3 separate regions of the Homo sapiens genome follow, and regions 1 and 2 are each linked to region 3. Evidence: promoter capture Hi-C in 16 types of primary human blood cells and fetal thymus (Javierre and others, 2016). All regions are on one chromosome and are shown on one strand. Each heading gives the region's core, a stretch centred on a gene start or on the middle of the fragment in contact. The rest is flanking DNA. Distances are from core to core; before and after follow the strand shown.

Region 1 (2,746 bases), core at 16-2,515, 3.4 Mb after region 3:
TAGAACCCTCTGGGGTGCACTCTCATCTGCTGCTAAAGGATCTCGTTGGCTCCGGTGGACCAAGTGAAAAGACACAGCTTTCTTCTTCTCTATAAAGGGCTTTTTCTTCCTGTGAGGCTTCAAAGGAACAAAATCACAACAATTAATTAAAACAGAACAAAAAGACGGAGAATAATTCCATAGTCCACACATGCATCTTTAGTAGTCATGTTAAAGATACTTTTTAAAAATCTACACTTCTAGGGCAGGCAACATCAGCTGTGTTCTGCAGAATCCATACTTAACCTTCCTTCAACAAACATTCCTTGAGCACCTACTTTGTGCCAGACCTTGTTATGGGAACTGAGAATACAGAAGTGGGAAAGTCAGATAAAGTCCCTGTTCTTAGCAAGAAAATCAAGATAATTTCCGGTGAAGAAAATATAAGACAGTGACGTGAAAATGCCTTAAAAGCTACTTTACACTGGCTGCTCAGGGAAGGCCCCTGGCCGACTGAACTAGAATGACAAGAAGCCTGCCACAACATAATCTGGAGTAGACAGCTCCACACAGAGCATCTACCAACCAGTAAATAAAATCACGACACAAACAGCTAAAGTTTAATAAGATCCATCACCTCTTTCTACATTCTTACTTCGCTATTCAATTTTGATTCTCTAAACTGGGAAACCAATTAAGTGGCTTTACTTTGGGCCCAACCTTATGCTCTCCCACAAGTTCCCTTTCTCAGAGGAAACAGACAGGCAGACACCTGCCACTCCAACGCTGAGGGAGACCAGCAGCTCCCTCTGCTCGACCCCAAGAAGCACAGGGTTGCGCGTTTGTGTCGGCAGTCACCAGCTTTTAGTTAACCGAAATCACGCAGGGCTGCAGGCTCCCAGGGATAAAACAAAAAGGCCATTCTCCTCTCCGGGCCACATCCCAGGGAGGCTCGGCGGTGGGAGACTGTAACTTGCAAAGAATGCCCACGGTGGTGACGTTGGCCCATTTCGGGGTACCGTGCCGCAAGCAGCCTCTGGCATGACCCAGACCCGGGCCGCAGTAGCCAAGGTATTACCGGAAGCAGCCTGGCCTCTGCAAAACCACAGCGCTCGGCCGCCGAAACAAGCAAGGCTTGCTCACCATGCTGCAGCCGCGCGGCGCTCACCCCCAACAGGGGCGGCGATGACACCCTCGAAGTCCGGCGGGGAGACCAAGGTCCAGCTGAAGGCCGCTTCTGTAGGCCTCACCACACGTGCAGCCCCAGGACCCGGCGATAACGTCACCCAGCCGGCCGTGGAAACGGACCAATCGCCGAGGAGCTGATGGGTCGCGACCGGAAGTTACATAGGCTCGCTGCGTCTCCACGATCGCGAGAAGCCACCGGGAGGTGGGGCTAGCTCGGCTCCCACCCCTGGGCGGGCTGTACTTTTCCGGCCTTTAGTCTCCCGCCGGGCAAAGGGAATCGTGGGGGTCCTTAACGTTGAGGCGCCACAGAGGGGTTTCTGCTTGTGGACGAACCTTTTATAGCTCCCTCTACGGAGACCAGAGGGGACGAATCTAGCATCCCCCTTGACTTGTGTCCCTTACCTATTCCCAACCATAAAAAACAAAGCCGCGGACACGGAAGGGAGGCGACCACCCCGCTGGGGTGCTGGGGTCGCCAAGTTTCAGGTTCCCTCTCCGGGTGGGGGCGGAGTCGGTTGCCGTAGCAACGGAGGCTGGGGCCTTGCCTTTATAGACTGCATCAGACTTGATCAGGTTATATTTTCCACTGTTTCATGAACTGCTTTCATCTGCCCTGTTAACCAAACCCCCGAGACTCTGTTAACTGTAGAGGCATTTGAACTAATAAAATATATTCAGAATCTCTGGTGTTTGAATGTTAACTTTCTCCCCCTGTTTAAACAAATAGGCTATAAGCACGCATTCTTAGGAAGATTTCAGGCCGGCGTTGGCGTACTCACATAGCTTTTCTTGGACGAAAGTGTGTGGTAAATGCAGTCACTTTCATCAGCAGACCTTTTTTTCAAATTTGTTTCCCCAACTTCCCAGTTTCTGGTGACCTCTCAATGAATGGCTTACCCTGGATTGTGTCTTTATGCCGTAGGCATTATCACTGTAAGTATTTGTGGAGTATTATTCTTTTATTACAGTAAAAATTATAGAAATAGGCCAGGCGCGGTGGCTCATGTCTGTCATCCCAGCACTTTGGGAGGCCGAAGCGGGTGGATCACCTGAGGTCAGGAGTTCAAGACCAGACTAGCCAACGTGGTGAAACCCCGTCTCTACTAAAAATACAAAACTTAGCCAGGTGTGATGGCAGGTGCCTGTAATCCCAACTACTTGGGAGGTTGAGGCAGGAGAATAGCTTGAACCCGGGAGGCAGAGGTTGCAGTGAGCTGAGATCATGCCATTGCACTCCAGCCTGGGCGACAAGAGCGAAACTCTGTCTCAAAAATATATATATATAGAAATAATTTAGGTTAGGACCATAAAACTTGTCTTAGGATATTGCTTTGTAACAGAGATAATACATAGCACTCCTATGTGCCAGAGATTCGTTGTTATTATTCATTATATAGAATTAAAAGATCCAAGGGGGCAGTTTTCATTTCCTTTCAATCAGTTGTACTTACTGCTGTATCATCAGGGGCCTGATGCATGGGGCATATATGCTCAGTAAGTATTTATTTAAATGAATTAATGTTCTGGCACTTTATCTGAATCATCTCATTTCATCCTCACTGCAACACTATGAAAGAGA
Region 2 (2,892 bases), core at 172-2,671, 4.2 Mb before region 3:
CAAAAAACAGGAAAGTTCAAAGCGAGTATACACTGAATCTATTATCCATTTGAGAGCCACTGAAGCTACACAGCTGCTTATTTTGTCTTCAAAGAAGGAATTAGTCATCAGTACCTGCAGGTATAACTGGATTTCTAAATCAAACTCAGATTTTTAGGAGGGACACTTCTATGTATTAAATTGTCTTAAGATGGTAAGCTTGCCTTAAATGATTTGTAAACTATGTGCCAGGCATTGTGCTAGTGGTCAGACTGTGTAAACCAAAATGGGTTAGACATCACAACCAAGTTAGCATGCCTTGAAACCAGAGTATCCTAGAAACTGCTGCCTCCACTTCCTTAGGAATAAAGCCATATCCTTTCTAAATCTCAAAAAATCCTAGATGTGTAAAGAAATCATTAAATTCTAGTCCTCAAAGGACTGTATTTCCCCAAAAAAGACACGGATTCTAGAAAAATGGCAACAACCAAAAAGTAAACTTTAAAATGTTAAAAATGACCATCAGGAAATTCTAACTTCCCTGCCATGTTTCCGTGTTTCAGGATCTCCCCGTTAAAAGATTTTCCACACCTCTAAATCTAACAGAATAGCCAACTCTGGAATCCATACCTCAAAGACCAAAACCTAACAGGAGAATAAACTGTTCTCTTAACAAACATGCGTTGCAGACTTTCATTTTTGGGGGGGCCAAAACTTCAAAAACGAAAATCGTTGCTGAAATAACCATGAAATTCAACCCTAACAGAAACATCTTACGCCGCTCAACTCATCTGCAAGGTAAAGGAAGCACCTCTGCCTCTGTGCACGCTACAGGAATCTGTACTTCAGCATGACTTTCAGTTACCATTGGTGACACAAAGATACTGCTGGTTTACAGTATCTCCCCGGTTCTAAAGGCCACTCCATTTCAAGTCTTAAAGATTAAAACAAACACGAAAAGTCAAGGGACAAGGGTAAAGGCCAAGAGATCTCAAGCAGAAGCCGGCAGAAGGATACGAGCAGTGGCTCTCCATCTCTACCCCGAGCATCTCAAGGACTTGTGCTACCTAAACACTTTATGTAAACAAGGGGCTTGTGACTCAGGCCTCCAGCCCCAATAGGTGGAGAGAAGTTTCCTCGCCTCGGCTGCACATGGTCTGCAGAAGTTTGGCTGGAGCAGAGCGCGGAGCCTGGGTGGGAGCGGCAGTGGAGTGCTGCAGGCGGCGGCGGCGGCGGCAGAGCAGCAGGAGGCGGAGGCGGGCGGGGGGAGGGGAGCGGCTGGGGGGGGGGCGGAGGGGGCTCTTGCCGCCACTGCTCTCTCGCCGCCTCTCCCCCCCGGCGGGAGCCGCTCGCAGCCTCTTTGCACTAGTCTCTCCGCTCTCTCGGTCATGTGACCTTAACGTAACCGGACAGGAAAAGCCCCGCCGCCGCCGCCGCCGCCGCGCCGGAGACACCGACCGCGGCGGCAGCAGCAGCAGCAGCAGCGAGAGGCAGAGGCGGCGGCGGCGGGGAGGACAGCACGGCCGAGGCTGCCCAGAGGCGCCTCCTCCACACCCCCCGCCGCAGCAGCACCGGCGACAGGTAAGCGCGCACCGCCTCCGCCTCCCGGGGCCGGTGCCCACGTGCCACCCCCAGCCCAGGGTCCGGGAAGGCGGTGGGGGGGCGGGGGCCACCGGAGCTCGCAAACGGTTCCGGCAGAGGCGGTGGCAACAAAGACGACGAATGACCCTCGTACCAGGGCTACGGGTGCAGGCAGGCGGAAGGCCCGGGCCACTCGGGGACCCGGTTCTGGGAAGCGAGGGCAGGGGCGCCTCGCGGGGGCGGCGGCGGCTGCGCCTGGCGCCGGGGCTCTGGCCGCTTGACAAAACCATCCCCCGGAGCCAGGCGGCGGCGAGTCGGCGGCGCCTCCATCCGGGGTTTTGTGGGAGGGGGAGGGGACGGAAGCCGAGAGGGCGGGCGGCGGATCGGAGGGAGGGTGGGAGGGAGGAAGGGGAGGGGGGCGATTCGCGTTCGGTTCCCCGTGGCCGGTCCCTCCCTTCCCGCCGCCACCGCGAAGTGCGCCCTGGGCGGCGGCGGCCGGTGAGCGTCCCGCGCTGGAGCCCTCAGAGGCGGGCCCGTCAGGTGCGTAATCCTTCCGACGCCTCGCCGCCGCCTCCTGCTGCTGCCGCCGCTGCTGCTTCGGCGGCAAGGCCGCGAGCTGCGGAAGTGGGTTTGGGGGAGGGGAGGGAGGAGGGAGGGGGAGGGGAGGGATCCGGTCCGACCGGAGCAGGCCCGGCCTCTCTGGCGCTTCTCCCAGCTGCAGCGGCTCCTACAGCTGCTGCCGCTACTGCTGCGGCTCCGCCTCCCGCTCGCGGGCGGGGGCGCGCACGCGCGCTTCCGGCCTCCTCGGGTCTCGCGCTGTCTCCGGCTCTCGCGCGCGCTCATCCCTCTCCCTCTCTCCCTGTCTGGGCCACCCCCGCCCCCGGCGCCGGGGCTGTTGCGCCGGCCGGGGCGTTGCGCACGGCGTAGGCGTCGGCATTGTGTTAAACTCCGCGGGACTTGGGGCGAGCGCGCGCGCGCACGCGGGACTGAGGGAAGCGGCGAGCGTGCAACGCGGCCGGAGTGCGTCGCCCCTCCCTCCCCCTCAGCCCCTCGGGGACGGGGACAGGGAGGGGGCGGGGCCGGCGAGACCGGAGGGGGCCAGAGGGCCCCGGCGCCGCGCCCCCGGCCCCGCCCCGGGGCGGGTGGGACGAGGTGGCTGTTGCGGCGCGCTCAGGCGGGCGGGGGACGCGTCGGCCTCTGTGGCGCCGCCCTTGTCGCCTGCTCGCTGAGGCTGCAGGCCGGGCCCCAGTCCCGGGTACGGAGCGTGTTGAGCCGGCGGCCTCCAGCTTCCGCCCGACGCGCCATCTGCGCCTGCGATACAGCCCGGTTTGG
Region 3 (3,003 bases), core at 427-2,926:
AAAATAAAATTAAAGAAAGGATACAGCCTTAAAGCACCAGTCTGAGTTCCCACTGCCAGGATCTTCTGTACAGGATCAAAGGCCAGGGCTGAGGGTTGATAGGGAAATCCATGGCGAACAGTCTAGGGATGGGCAAGTGACATCACAGCAACCAAGGCAGCAAGCGAAATTTTAAAATAGAAAGTCAATAGAGGCGTTAGAATTTAGAACCACTACCACTGATGCAAAACACATACACATGCACTTACTGCTTTTGAAAAAATAAGTGAAACCTACATTAACAAAGTTATTCACATAGAACCTGAAACAAACAAAAATCTAGTCCAGTGATATACTTTAATTTCGCTTTTCCATAATACTGGTATTCCATAGAAGAAAATCTTTTATTAATATTCTATACTACTACATCCGACACCAGATGACTAAAGTTTGCAATGGTCCAAAATTCTGTAAACCCATTAAATGCAATTCATACTTTATTTTGGCAGTATTCATTTCATCATTACTTTATTTGGATGCTAACGCAAGTACTTCTAAGGAAAAGCTGTCATATAATTACTTTAGTCAAGCATTCAGTAGAGCAATAATCAAACCTCTATCCCAACATTTTACACTTGTAACAGAATGAAGATGAGTACAACATACATTTTTGCAATTTACTATTAAGGCCATAATCATTTTAGGGCATTAGACCTATATATATATATATATATATATATATGCACACTTTTAATTAACTCTGACATACAAATACATGGCTATTTATGAGAAAGGCAGGTATTAAAACCGAGGCAAGTTTGTGTTTCTCATTAAGCAGCTGGTGACTTAATTCGCTGCATCATTCTTTCTGAATTACAGAACGCTATGGCAATTATCGTGCCATTAACAGGCAAAAATCTCAGTACTTTTTAACAAACATAATGATAAAAAGAACCCTGTGATTTCATATCGTAAGCCACTTACACCACATTTTAAGGGAAAAGTGATGAGCAAAGGTGTGGTAGAACAGGTTTGGCTTTTTGATAAACAACATTCATTAGACACCGTTTCCAAAGGAAACTTCGAAGTTGGTGAATCATATTAAAACGCTTGAATATAAAAGCTTCCAGGTTATTACTGGCAGTGTCAGAATACGATTAAAGGTCGGATAATAGTTTGAAGCAACCTTGAACTGATTGCTGCATGTGCAAAGGGGAGAGAGAAAAATCAATGAAAAGGAGTAAGGTATCAATCTCCAAAACAACCCACCGAAGAAACGTTTGCCAAGGGAGGAGCGAGCCTTTTATTAGAGTTATTATTATTATTATTGGCGTTCTCTTCCCTTGCATTCCCATGTAAAGCCCGAGTAGCCCCCTTAAAACAACCCCAATTTTTCAATGACGGTGTCGCGGGGCTGCGCGCTCCGTTCACCTTGCAGAGCTGAAAGTGCTCGGACTGGAGCGTTTCCTGGATCTCCGGCTCCCGGTTCCCAGGCGGATGCTGCTGCTGTTGCTGCTGCGACGCCGAGGACGAGCCGGCGGTCAGGCCGTCCAGCACCTTCCTGATGTTGAATTTCCTCATGGTCTCGGAGGGGCTCCCCCGCAGCCCGGGAGGGGAGGCACAGGGGGTCCCCGGGCGGGGGAGACCACCCGGGGCCGAAGGCAGCTTCGACCGCGGAAACGGAGGAGTGGGAGTGTGAGGGTAAGGAGGCAGCTGGGGGGAAGCAAAAGATAATCCGAACAGGAAATACTGCGACGACAAGAGCGGCGGCCGCAAGAAACCTGGGCGGCGACCCCTCTTCCTCCGAGGCCGCCGCTGCTTGGCGCGGCTGCTGTGGTGCCGATTCAGCCGCCGCCGCCGCCGCCTCGCTCCGCGGCCCGGCAGCAGCAGCAGCAGCAGTGGCGGCGGCGCCCGAGCCCGCTCAGCCCAGCCTCACCTGGCCGCGGGCGGACTCTGCGCCGCGCCGCCGCCCCGGCTCGCCCCCGGCGCCGCCACCGTCGCCGCTGCGTCCATGGCCCGCGGCCGCGCCGCTGCTCGCCCGCCCCGGCCCCGCAGTCCCTCGGCGCGTCCTCCGGCTCCTTCTCCTCCTGCCGGGGGTCGCCGGCTCTCTGTCCGCGGCCGCCGCTCGGCCTCGCACACAAGGCGCCTGGTGTGGGTCCCCGCGCCGCCTGCCTCGCCCCGCCTCGCTCCTCCGCCGCTGGACCGGCCCGCCCTCGCCGCTCCCGAGCCCGGCTGCGTTCCTCAGGCGCCGCCGCGGCCGTCGGCTCTCCCCGCCCAGCCGCTCCCCATCGCCTGACAGGGCGCCTCGGCACACGGCACCAACGCCCGCCCGGAGCAGCAGCGGCAGCCGCGGTTACAGCGCGGGCCGCGGCGGTGGCGGCAGCAGGGCCTCCCAGGAGCCGGGCTGCGGTACCTGCGCATGCGCGCCGCAGCCCGGTTCCCCCACCCTGGCCCAGCAGGCCCCCAGCCCCCCAGCCCGAGCGAAGCTGGGGCTTAAATTATCTTCTGCGAAAATCCCAGACGCTGGCTAAATTTCTCCCACCCCAGTCGAGTTGCCAGAGTATGCAGCTGCTTCTCTTGCAGCTGGCATAGTAAAAATGTTGACGACTAACAAGCAGCAGGAAACCTTTCTTTCCAATTCAGTCATTACAGCAGGGGTTGATGCTTTCTCGCCGTTAATGGGGTGCACGCTCCTGGCCGCTGGCTGCAGTATTATTTTTCTTGCTTTATTGACGGGCGTTGTTTTTGTTTGATTGGATTTGAGTTTTGAAAAAGAGCGTCTAGACAACGATATGTCAGTGGCAGGAGGATGATGGACTTAGGTACTAGGAAAAGGAGAGAAACCTAGACGGGAAAAAACGGGTTCTTTCCTACAGCTGTTACTGTTGGTGGAACGTGTCTGGTCTTAGCAGTTAGCTGCTGGGATGGAAGAGGCTGCCAGCGGGGAACGGTTCCAGGGCCGGTGTCAGCCCGGGCCGATGACACTACCCCGCACCCAGCCCCTCGCCGGGGAGGAGCGCGGGT

Evidence for each region. The method cuts DNA at HindIII sites, captures the fragments that hold promoters and counts their contacts. A CHiCAGO score of 5 or more calls a contact.
Region 1: the fragment with the promoter of LTV1 here is called in contact with the fragment with the promoter of STXBP5 in region 3 in 1 of 17 cell types (total B cells); the score reaches 6.8 in total B cells.
Region 2: the fragment with the promoter of ZBTB2 here is called in contact with the fragment with the promoter of STXBP5 in region 3 in 2 of 17 cell types (total B cells and naive CD8 T cells); the score reaches 7.5 in total B cells.

Annotation. Positions count from the first base shown.
Region 1 is chr6:143,841,857-143,844,602 of GRCh38, reverse strand. It overlaps LTV1 (LTV1 ribosome biogenesis factor), which reads right to left and starts at 1,265. Exons shown (of 11, transcript NM_032860.5): 1 at 1,123-1,265; 2 at 1-117. The coding sequence starts at 1,125. RefSeq lists enhancers at 762-831, 1,022-1,231, 1,412-1,461. The HindIII fragment of the contact is 13,446 bases long and covers 1-2,746 here.
Region 2 is chr6:151,390,088-151,392,979 of GRCh38, reverse strand. ZBTB2 (zinc finger and BTB domain containing 2) reads left to right here and starts at 1,421. Exons shown (of 3, transcript NM_020861.3): 1 at 1,421-1,560. LOC124901232 (translation initiation factor IF-2-like) reads right to left here. Exons shown (of 3, transcript XM_047419613.1): 2 at 2,508-2,892; 3 at 1-2,275. The coding sequence ends at 1,376. RefSeq lists an enhancer at 536-1,408 and silencers at 1,390-1,449, 1,460-1,849, 1,930-2,859. The HindIII fragment of the contact is 3,903 bases long and covers 201-2,892 here.
Region 3 is chr6:147,203,090-147,206,092 of GRCh38, reverse strand. STXBP5 (syntaxin binding protein 5) reads right to left here and starts at 1,676. Exons shown (of 28, transcript NM_001127715.4): 1 at 1,411-1,676; 2 at 25-122. The coding sequence starts at 1,560. It overlaps STXBP5-AS1 (STXBP5 antisense RNA 1), which reads left to right and starts at 1,479. Exons shown (of 11, transcript NR_034115.1): 1 at 1,479-1,680. It overlaps LOC124901422 (a long non-coding RNA gene), which reads left to right and starts at 2,522. Exons shown (of 2, transcript XR_007059803.1): 1 at 2,522-3,003. RefSeq lists silencers at 1,534-1,723, 1,894-1,973, 1,994-2,043, 2,074-2,493. The HindIII fragment of the contact is 4,433 bases long and covers 1,105-3,003 here.